Regions from separate parts of the Homo sapiens genome. Here all the other regions are linked to region 3. Evidence: promoter capture Hi-C in 16 types of primary human blood cells and fetal thymus (Javierre and others, 2016). All regions are on one chromosome and are shown on one strand. The core of a region is centred on a gene start or on the middle of the fragment in contact, and the rest is flanking DNA. Distances in the headings are between cores, read along the strand shown. Region 1 overlaps DLG2 (discs large MAGUK scaffold protein 2). Region 2 overlaps DLG2 (discs large MAGUK scaffold protein 2). Region 3 holds the start of FAM181B (family with sequence similarity 181 member B). Region 4 overlaps DLG2 (discs large MAGUK scaffold protein 2).

Evidence for each region. Contacts are between HindIII fragments. The CHiCAGO score rates a contact against its expected background, and 5 or more counts as called.
Region 1: a fragment that was not itself captured here is called in contact with the fragment with the promoter of FAM181B in region 3 in 1 of 17 cell types (naive B cells); the score reaches 5.3 in naive B cells.
Region 2: a fragment that was not itself captured here is called in contact with the fragment with the promoter of FAM181B in region 3 in 2 of 17 cell types (naive B cells and total B cells); the score reaches 5.7 in naive B cells.
Region 4: a contact is called between a fragment that was not itself captured here and the fragment with the promoter of FAM181B in region 3, in 8 of 17 cell types (total B cells, naive B cells, M2 macrophages and 5 more). The highest score is 10.7, in total B cells.

The regions. Positions count from the first base shown.
Region 1 is chr11:83,842,958-83,845,818 of GRCh38, reverse strand. The region is part of intron 16 of DLG2 (discs large MAGUK scaffold protein 2); the gene reads left to right. Among named protein-coding and RNA genes, the nearest start is that of DLG2-AS2, 210 kb to the right of the region's middle. The HindIII fragment of the contact is 1,084 bases long and covers 792-1,875 here.
Region 2 is chr11:83,803,472-83,806,171 of GRCh38, reverse strand. All of the region lies in intron 17 of DLG2 (discs large MAGUK scaffold protein 2), which reads left to right. Among named protein-coding and RNA genes, the nearest start is that of DLG2-AS2, 170 kb to the right of the region's middle. The HindIII fragment of the contact is 2,260 bases long and covers 162-2,421 here.
Region 3 is chr11:82,732,588-82,735,382 of GRCh38, reverse strand. FAM181B (family with sequence similarity 181 member B) reads left to right here and starts at 1,519. Exons shown (of 1, transcript NM_175885.4): 1 at 1,519-2,795. The coding sequence starts at 1,654. The HindIII fragment of the contact is 9,040 bases long and covers 1-2,795 here.
Region 4 is chr11:83,823,711-83,826,552 of GRCh38, reverse strand. All of the region lies in intron 17 of DLG2 (discs large MAGUK scaffold protein 2), which reads left to right. Among named protein-coding and RNA genes, the nearest start is that of DLG2-AS2, 190 kb to the right of the region's middle. The HindIII fragment of the contact is 2,865 bases long and covers 1-2,788 here.

The DNA of each region.
Region 1 (2,861 bases), core at 84-2,583, 1.1 Mb before region 3:
AGGTTACTCAAGTATTTATTGGTAGGATTATGATTCAAGCCTAGATCTATGTAGCTCCAATGCCCATACTCTTTCCCAATATCACAGTATCCCATACCATCCCCCTCTAGTAGGGTTGTTTTATCCCACACAGTACCAACCACAGTATGTTTAGTATAAACTCTGTATCAGTGTGGTTATTATTTTGCTGAAGTCAGCCTGCTCTATATTGTATATTTAATGCATAGATCCCCCCTTATGATGACAGATTTCTTTCTATTATTTTAATAACATGTCCTCAAATAGCAGTTCAACAAAACCCTCTATCTTTGTGTATCTGTATGATGCCCAATAATCTGTTTGACTGATTATTTGGCTAACTGACCAAATTAACTATTTAAATATGAGGCACACATTATACTGCATCCTTCTGAGGAGCTAGCTCATTTAGATATAAGAAGGTTGTAATCAACCAGCAGCTTTGAAGCCTTCTGTTGTTGTCTTCCATGTGACCACCTTTGGTATGCCCCTCTCTTCACAAGTTTCCTAATACATGTCTTCTCATTCTACTAAAAAGATCTTTTTGATCTCCTACAAGTATCTCCTCTTTTTAATAACATTGTTCACGTGAACGTAGTTGCATTTAATAGAGAAATGAAGGAAAAAGGATTCAGGAAGACTAGCTGTAGACTTCCCATATGACTTCCACGGGTAATAGACCCTTTTTGGGTTGTCGTTATACTAGATCTGGGCCTTCCATCTACAGTCTCTGGAACTCAGTTTTTGTCAGTGTATCCAGGAGTAATCAAGCTTATATGCTGTAATACCATGTTTTTAATATATGATGCAAAATGTAACTACTCAAGATACCAGAATGTGCTATAACTAGCACATTGCTCTCAATAGGAAAAACACTAGGATAAATTATATTTTTAATGAGCTGGAGGCTTGGTGAGCCTGGACTCTGAGAGGGAAATTAGCCACCCAAGTGACCCTAATGACTACTGTCATTGAGCTAGGATGGCCAGATGAGCCCATCTCATACGTTACCCCTACCACCAGGACAGCACATTTATGTTAGCCACCTGCAGCTGGAGCTGGAGATCACCTCGACCTCACAGCTCTGGAGATCTATTGCGAAGATCTTTCTTCTACGACTCAGGTGGACTCTCCCTCCTTTATTCTCCCAATTTATTCAGTTTTATCAATTCTGTTTGCAAGTGTAACTTATTTGACATTCAAACATGCCTTGATTAGTTCCCCAGGCCCTTTTTTTTTTTTTTTTTTTTTTTGATACAGACTCTCACTCTGTTGCCTAAGCTAAAGTGCAGTGATGCGATCTTGGCTTACTGCAACTTCCGCCTCCCAGGTTCAAGCAATTCTCGTGCCTCAGCCACCCAAGTAGCTGGGATTACAGACATGCACCACCATGCCCAGCTAATTTTTTTTTTTTTTTCAATAGAGATGGAGTTTCACCATGTTAGCCAGGCTGGTCTGGAACTTCTGGCCTCTAGTGATCCACCCGCCTCGGCCTCCCAAAGTACTGAGATTACTACAGGCGTGAGCCACCGCGCCTGGCCCCCAGGCCCTTTTTTTTACCCTATGAGCCAAAATCAGGATAGATATGTATCCTGGATATTGTTGAAGTGCTAATATTTTTGTACTTTATCCTTTTGTTTGGGGTGTAGCCTCACAGGGTCCTAATTTTGCTCAGGTGTCTCTGATCTAATCCCACCACTGGGCTCACACAGTCCTATTCATGCAGCCATCAAATCTAGACACTAACACACTAGCTCATCACTCTTCAGTCTGCTGCTATTCTCAGTACTTGCTTTCTTCTGAGTTTGCATTTCTGCTTCATTTTCATCCTCTGAAGATTTCTCTTACTTGCAAGCTTAGCCAAGCATTTAAAAGTATTTTATAACTATTTTATTCAGAATTTTTAGCTGCTTTGTAATGAAAGGGGTTTTCAGAATATCTAATATGCCAAATTACTGGAAATAGCATCTCAATATTTAATTTTCTTTAAAACTTCTCAGTTTTCTAGATGCCTTTAGTTCATTGTCTTATCGGAATTTCAACACTTCCCCATGAGACAAACATTATTCCCTCCATTACCCAAGCAAGGAACCCGACCTGTAGAGGACAATCCTGGCTTCCCACATATCCCAAGAGAGCCAGAACTAGAACTCAGTATCATTTTTCCCAACCACTCACTTTTTTTTCCGTTCATGAAACAATATTTTTGTTTGTATGTCTCTTATATGCTCAGCCTGTACCCGCTTCCAAAATTACACAAAACAAGGACCTAAAAGTCCTTTATCTTTGTCTTTCAGGACCATACAGATTGACAGCATAGATGGATGGGTAAATAAATTTATTTCAGAACAGTAAAGGCAGTGATAGTGGTGTGATCAATGAAAGGACAATGTGGTTTCAAAAAAGTCAGTTCTTCTGGAGGTGAGGGTAGAGGGGACAGCAGAGAGGAGATTGTACCTGGCCTCAGTCTTAAAGGCCAAGTAGGACCTCGTTAGATAGATGAGAATAGCAGGAAAAGGCAGGCATCCTTCTAGCCAAAGCAAACAGCAAACAGCCTGGGCAAAGACAAGGAGGAACAACCTGGGATGAGAAGCTGTGGTTGGCAACTTTGTAAGGCTGAAATATGAAATACAAAGGGGCACAATGAAGTTAAGTGGTGGAGAGGTAGGTGAGGTCAAATAATAGGAAGCTTTGAATGCCTATGTAGAAGTTTAGACCTTATCCTAAAAGGTACACAGATCCTTAGAAGGCTTTTGAGCAAGAGAGAAACATGGTAAGATATGTTCTTTAGAAAGATCAATGAAAACATATTTATATCTTAATTCCCACTACCCAATACAGCC
Region 2 (2,700 bases), core at 42-2,541, 1.1 Mb before region 3:
TCACGGACCATCATGATTACAGGAGGTCTGGGAAGATAGAACCTGACCTGGACAAGGGAGAAGGCCAAGACTTCAAAGAATCCAGGAAAACAGGAAGTAAAACAAGGAGGAGGAAGTTAGGCCCAAGGGAATAACATTAGGCTAGGGATGGACATGAAGCTTCTAGCAGCAGCAGAGGGTTTGCTTAGGAGAGGAGGCGTGTAATGTAGGACATTGAACTCTAGCATTCTCATCTGGACTCTACTACAAATACACTGAGTGACCTTGGAAAATAACTTCATTCTCTGTGCCTCACTTTTTCCACCAATGATATGGGAGGACTAGACAGAATCCACTCTAACGTTCCCTCATATCAGAGAAGTATCTGGTCTTAAAAAGACTAGAGAGGGTTGTGGTAAAAGCTGCATTGTGAAAGGGCTTAAATATAGGGCTAAGAAATTTGCACATAATTTACAAGCAGTTAGGAACACAGATGAATATGAGCATCTGTGGCATGTATAAAATGTGAAAGGCAGTATTTAAAGAAAAGTAGAGTGGTTGTGATATACAAGATGACTATCAAGGTATTGAGAGTAGACAAAAGGGAGAGGGAGGATGGGAGAGAGACAGAGATTAGAGGAAAAGCTAACATCAATTAGAAGTCTACCACATGGTAATGAGATATAATATCATGCTATATCAAAAAACCAAATATATGATATATCAAAAAGAACAATATTATATATCAAAAACATTCTAATATGATATATAAAAAATTATGTCATGATATATCAAAAATAAATCCAGAATGATAGAGAAAAATTATATATATATATGGGAGAAGCTCTCCTGCACAAAATAATACCAGCTAATAATTCTAGAATAAATAAAGAATTTATAAAATAACCATTTTTTAACCCGCTACAAAATAACTATTTCAAGAAAGCATAATCCATAGATGCTAAAACAATTAGGGGTTAAAGTTGACTGGAAAAAGGATATTTACATGGTCTCAAATAAACCACCTTATAGATTGTTATTTGCAAAATAGAAAGGTGCCTTTTAAATGAAGAGATCTGGTGGTCCATGTATTTTGAGCTTCCTGCTATGACGCAGTAAGAAATACACAGCATTCATTACACACTGGATTTTGCTAAAAATGTTTCACCTGATTCTGAAGAAACAATCAGACAAATTCAAAATGCAGAACACTCTATAAGCATCTGACTGAAATTATTTTTAAAAAAAGAGTAAATTTTATTTAAAGAAAAATGTAGGTAATGTTCAAGACTAATAATGACTAAAGACATAGTAACAACCAAATGCAATGCATAAAACTTAAATCCTGGATTTAAGAAAAAAATCTGTAAAAGACATTTGGAGGATAACGGAGGAAATTTGAATAGGTGCAATATATTAAATGTTATAGAAATATTAGTTTTGTTTGCTTTCTCTGGAGTAATAATGGCATTGTGGTTATACAGAAAATGTCTTTACACTGGGAAGATGCCTTGCTGATATGTTAGATTGAAAGTGGAATGACGTCTGCAACATAATTCAAATGGTTCAGAAAAAGTGTGTGTCTGTGTGTGTGTGTGTGTGTGTGTGTGTGTCTTCTGCTAGGCAGATAGGTAGGTAAGTGGAGAGAGTGAGAAGGAGGAAGAGAGGGAGAACAAATGTACCAAAATGTTAAGAACTGTTGAATCTTTATGAGTTTTTATTATAATGTTCTTCAAGTTTTCTATAATTTGAAATTTTTCAAAATAAACAGGAAACAGGGCCTGTTTCAATAGTTCAGATCAATGCTTAGAACTAGCATAGTAAATTAGAAAGGAAAAAACAAAAGCAACAGATATTTTGAAGAGAAATAGTTTAATAAATATTATTTCTCATTCATAGTGGTGAATACAAGTTGATTTTCATGCATCTCTGTTTATTCAGATCTCCTCCTCTTGATTTGACTGATTGCAGTTGGGAAGATTTTGACTTCCCAAAAAGATTTGACTGATTGCAATTGGGAAGATTTGATGAAAGTAATTGGGAAGAGGGGACTTAAGAGTTCTTGACACAGTTTGCCTAAACTCACAAAACCTGTTTCTTGGGAGCTTTTAGGCAATGAGATGATTACCTTATTTTTAGATGAGGAATAAGTCAAAGAAATACTAAGATGTAATTATGGGCAACAGCCAGATGCCAAGATACACATAAGCCCAAACACAAAAGAATGTCATCAACTTGAGGAACTACGATGAAAAAAACATCAGATGAGTCCCACATGCAGCAGCCAGAGTTTGAGTTTTGCATTAACAGATTTTGACCAAGATTAATTCCATTAATATATTATTCCTGCTCAAGCCTTTCAGATGTTTTAGGAGTGGACTGTTTGACAGATATGTCTCTGGAGGCAGCATTATTCCTTCCTTTAAAATTGATTCCAAAGCTTATGAACAAGATTAATTGTGTATGAGGAAAAAAGGAAACAAGAACCCTTTTCACTTACATTACAATCTCACTCAGATTAGTTTATGTAAACTAAACCAAATTAGTGAATATTATAGGATATGTAGAAATGAACATCCTTATTGCTTTCAAATCTGTATACTATTTAGACAAATTCCTAGTTAATAACTTTGACCCAGAACTTAGCCAACTGAACTTGTTTGAACAAAATAATAAGGTTCACTGGGAATTAGGGCATTTATGTGAAAAATGGTATTGATT
Region 3 (2,795 bases), core at 270-2,769:
CAGTGTTTTCATATAGAGACAGTCCCCAACTTATGATGGTTCAACTTTATGATTTTCCAACTTGAATCAGTGTATTACATGCATTTTAACCTACAATATTTTCAACTTACAATGTGTTTATCAGGATGTTGTTGCTCTATCACAAATTGAGAAGCATCTATGATCTCACTTAATGCTCATGAACACCCTATGATCCAGAAGACACGTAAGGGATATAGTCACCTTTTTGTGTTTCAGAGAAGTAAGGGTGAATACTCATCCAGGCTATGGAACAATGTATCATTTAAATATCACAAGTGCCCTGTGGGGAGGGCAACTTTACCTGCATTTAACATGAGTAAGCTAAACAGAGAGAGTACGCTGGTTTGTCTAAAGCCATGCACTCAGCAGAGCAAGGATTTCAACCTAAGTCATGAGGTTATTGAGTGGTGGCTAAGACCAGAACCCAAGCCTCTTCTGAATCTCTTGTGAAAATGACCTTATTGCTCATTTTCTCTATCTATCCCAAAGAGGATTGCCCAGGTGAAATTAGTTTTAAGTGAACTTCATGATGATCCCTGAAATGCAATGAAAATTCCAGGGATAACCTAAATGGTATGACAGGTAGGGGAGAGGTTCCAATCCATCTTTTATTCTAACATGCTGAGAGTTTTATACACACACAGTGTTCTCAAGTAACAGGGGGCTTAGCCAGATCGACTCCTTTCTCCATTGCCTCCTGCTATGTGTTAATAAAAGATGGGCCACTGCTGGCCTCAATTTACTGTTAGCCAATTGTTACTCGTAACAATCAAGTGGCAAACAGTCAAGAAGAAAGAGCACTGGGCTTGAGAATCCTGGGAAAACTCAGGTTAGAATCTTAGGATCAGGTCTAGAGCTTTAAGAAATACTCATTTTCCTTCCCCATCTTAATAGATGAGAAAGGCAAGGGCAAGAGAGGACGCAAGTATTGTCAAGGGCTTAGGAATGGCTTTGGAGTCAGAATGGGCTAGATCTGACTTTGGCCAACTCACTGAACCTCCCTGAGGTGCAGTGTCCACGTTTGTTGAATGGCGATAACATGTAATTCACAGGGCTGTTGTTCAAGGATTAAATGAGATAATAGATGGACAGCGCCTGGCAGAAGCAAGCGCCCAGAAGCTGGTGGGTGTTGTTATACAGCTGGACTGAAACCCACGTCTCTAGACTCCTGCCTTCTTGCCTCAGGAGAGGCACCACCGCAAGTACCTGCAGAAGCCTATCAAGCGCTGCAGCGGCCTCATGGGCCTGAACTGGAGTTTGAGACCAGCCATCTCTTCCTCACCCCTTGCGGTTAGAGGAGTCAAGAGAAACACCACGGGGCAAAGGGAAACGAAGGAGTTAAGGCGTTGAGCTTCAGAAAGCTCAGAAAACTAAAGCGACCCCCCACTCCTCCAAGCCAGGCTAAGTAAGCCCCTCCCCTCTACCACCGGGACGGTCGCCGCGCGCTCCCTCCCTCCGCCCCTTGCTTACAAGACCTAATGAGCTCCCCCGGGAGGCAGCGCAGCGAGCCAGGCCCGGAACTAGTAGGCTGCGCCGCGCGCGCCGCGCCGGGGCGGGAGCTGGGTCTGGGCGGCGGGCAGGAGCTGGCGGGGGCGCACGGGCAGCGCTGCGGACAGCCCGGGAGCCGCGGCGATGGCGGTGCAGGCGGCGCTCCTCAGCACGCACCCTTTCGTGCCCTTCGGCTTCGGGGGCTCCCCGGACGGGCTAGGGGGCGCCTTCGGAGCCCTGGACAAGGGCTGCTGTTTCGAGGACGATGAGACCGGGGCTCCGGCGGGTGCGCTGCTGTCGGGAGCCGAAGGAGGGGACGTGCGCGAGGCCACCCGCGATCTACTCAGCTTCATTGACTCGGCGTCCAGCAACATCAAGCTGGCGCTGGACAAGCCGGGCAAGTCGAAGCGGAAGGTGAACCACCGCAAGTACCTGCAGAAGCAGATCAAGCGCTGCAGCGGCCTCATGGGCGCCGCGCCCCCCGGCCCGCCCTCCCCGAGCGCCGCCGACACGCCAGCCAAACGGCCGCTGGCCGCCCCTAGCGCCCCGACAGTCGCGGCCCCGGCCCACGGCAAGGCTGCCCCCCGGCGGGAGGCGTCGCAGGCCGCCGCGGCCGCCAGCTTGCAAAGCCGAAGTCTGGCCGCGCTCTTCGACTCGCTGCGCCACGTCCCCGGGGGTGCCGAGCCGGCGGGGGGTGAGGTGGCTGCGCCGGCGGCCGGGCTAGGAGGTGCGGGCACTGGGGGCGCGGGAGGGGACGTGGCAGGCCCCGCGGGGGCCACGGCGATCCCAGGGGCCAGGAAGGTCCCGCTGCGGGCACGCAATCTGCCTCCGTCCTTCTTCACGGAGCCGTCCCGGGCAGGCGGCGGCGGGTGTGGCCCGTCGGGGCCGGACGTGAGCTTGGGCGACCTGGAGAAGGGCGCGGAGGCCGTGGAGTTCTTTGAGCTGCTGGGGCCCGACTACGGCGCCGGCACGGAGGCGGCAGTCTTGCTTGCCGCCGAGCCTCTCGACGTGTTCCCCGCCGGAGCCTCCGTACTGCGGGGACCCCCGGAGCTGGAGCCCGGCCTCTTTGAGCCGCCGCCGGCAGTGGTGGGAAACCTACTGTACCCCGAGCCCTGGAGCGTCCCGGGCTGCTCCCCGACCAAAAAGAGCCCCCTGACTGCCCCCCGCGGCGGCTTGACCTTGAACGAGCCCTTGAGCCCCCTGTACCCCGCCGCTGCGGATTCTCCCGGCGGGGAGGACGGGCGGGGCCATTTGGCCTCTTTCGCCCCCTTCTTTCCAGACTGCGC
Region 4 (2,842 bases), core at 107-2,606, 1.1 Mb before region 3:
TGCTTGTTCCAGGCATTTGCTCTCTCTCTCTAACCCACTGCATCTAGACACATTGACTCTTCAGTCATTTCTGGCTTTTGCCTCTCTTAATTGTAGAGCCCATTTAGACTTCTCCCTACCTTACTGGATCTTTCTTCCTGCACAGCTCAGAACTCACTGCTCACCTGATCACAAGACCACCTCAAATGAAAACAGATATGGCTTGTGAAGAGGCTCCAGGGGAGTCACTCTTGCTCAGCCTTGGCTTCAGAGCCCCACTAGCCAGGCTGTACCTCCTGGCCCAGCCACCAGAGTGTGGGTATTCAGCAGGGCCTGACTATGGGCAGAGTTCTTTATTCCTGATGATTGCCTAGTGCATATAAACATCACCCATCACATACAGACTTCCAGCCTTTGGAAAGAGGAAACTGTACAAAAAGCCTATCTAATCATATCCTTTTCCTGCTCTCTTTAAAGCCTTTCAATGGTGTCCTGCTGTTCTTAAAGCCTAAAATTGTTAACACAGCCCACAGAATTTTGCAGAGTCTGGCCCCTGCCTGCCTGGACAGCCTGCCCCATCCACAATACTTCCCCTACTCTCACTGATGCTTCAGCCACTCTGGATTTTTCTTTACCTATGGTCAGGGATGCTATTCAAAATTTTCACACCTTGGCATAACCCTGGCACCCATCCACACAATGAATGGCCGTAGTGCCACAGATGCCAGACAGCAGGGCAGTGGGGACTTCTAGGGAGCCAGAGTTGTGGGTCACTCAGGAGGGCTCAGGACAGCAGTTATTTACTAACAAACCACACACAAGTGTGTTTCACTGTTGTACAAAAAGGAAGAGCCATATCACTGAGTGGGGACGGAGCAGCAGCCCTGTCCCCTCTGTGCTGAGCTCCCTCCTACCTCCATCTTGTTCACTGAATTTCCTCGAAAAGGAACTTGGAGTAGACAAGGAAAAACCCTCCATTATCTAAAAGGGACCAGAGAACTCATGAATTGCCCCAAGCGTCACTTAAACAGCATCCCCATTGTCTGACATAGAATCCGGCTGTATAATATATGTTAAAGAAAAGCAGTAATTAGGCCGGGCACAGTGGCTCACACCTGTAATCTCAGCACTCTGGGAGGCTGAGTTGGGCAGTTCACCTGAGGTGGGGAGTTTGAGATCAGCCTGACCAACATGGAGAAACCCCATCTCTACTAAAAATACAAAATTAGCCGGACGTGGTGGTGCATGCCTATAATCCCAGCTACTCAGGATGCTGAGGCAGGAGAATCGCTTGAACCTGGGAGGCGGAGGTTGCGGTGAGCCAAGATCATGCCATTGCATTCCAGCCTGGGCAACAAGAGTGAAATTCCATCTCAAAAAAAAAAAAAAAAAAAAAAAAAAATATATATATATATATATATGTGTGTGTGTGTGTGTGTGTATATATATATGTGTATATATATGTCTATATATATGTGTATATATATGTGTGTATATATATGTGTATATATAAAAAACAAAAACAACAACAACAAAAAGAAAAACAATAAAATCTGTGGGCACTCAGCAAACTGTGTAGGGAAACAAAATTAACATTGCTCCTTTCCAGTTATATTCCTTAAGTCTTGCTTATTCAATGTGTCATAAACATACTATATGTCACAACTTAGCAAGGTGCAGTGAAAATAGTACATTGGGAACCATGTACTTAACATCAGACTTGTAACACCTGACTCACAATATCACTACTCAAAGGATTTAACTGTAAGCAGCTTTCAAAAGTCTGAAACTTAACTCAGTGCACCAGTAAAACACCAGCTTTTCTCGCAGTGGTACTTCCAAAACTGTGTATAATAGCGGATGTGTGAAATGCTTCATAAAAAAGGTTCATAATTCAATGAAAGATCTGAGAAGTCCTGCAGCAAATTTTTTAAATGCTGATAAAGTGTTTTTTAACATTATTTAACAAAATAACTTTTTTAGTCTTTGGATATAAATTACTATCAAGTGAAACATATTTTTTGAAAATTCTGTCATAATCTCCAGAAAACCTCTTGCAAGTATTTTATTTGACGGAAGTAAATTTTCACCTTAAAATCTTGTTTGCAGAGCTCAGAGACATTCACAAAGTACCAAAAGCTACTAGACACTAAGGATGCAACGTGAAAAAAATCATTGTGTCCTCAGTGAACATGTAGCCTCATGAAGGGAGACAGACAAATAAATAGATTATTTCCAATATAACATGGAAATGCTAACGGTAAGTTCCAGGGACCACATGGGCGTAAAGAAGAGACCATCCTTAGCTCAGCCTGGGGAAGTAAGAAGGATTCTGGAGGGGAAACTTCCCAACAAAGAGGGCCCCTAGAAAGCAAAACCAGTAGAGAATTGGAGATAAAATGCCTAACCTTTATTGAATATATGCTCAGCACAAAGCATTTTGCTGGATACTGCGCTGTGATTTCACTGAATTGTCCTAACAACCTTGTTGGATTGAAGGCTCAGAGAAATTAAATAATTTGTCCAAGATCACACAGATAATCAGTAATGATGGTGGTATTTGGAATACTGTTGCTTCTGATTTCAAAGCTATGCTCTTTCTGCGATGCAGGCCTTCACCAAAGAATTGAATTTGGCAGTTTACTTATGTCTGAGGCAGTCCATACTCAAAGTCTAGTTAATGAAAAAAGCATAAATGCCTAAAAAAAGAGCATTTAAAAGGAGACATATGAGTCACCACAGGAAGCCATTGTATACGAAGGCTGTAAGATTGAGGCACTTAGAAGCAACGTTCAGATCCTTTGAAGCTTCCCTTGAGGATGAAACTGTGTTTTATTCATCTCTGCTCCCTTGTTGATTAACT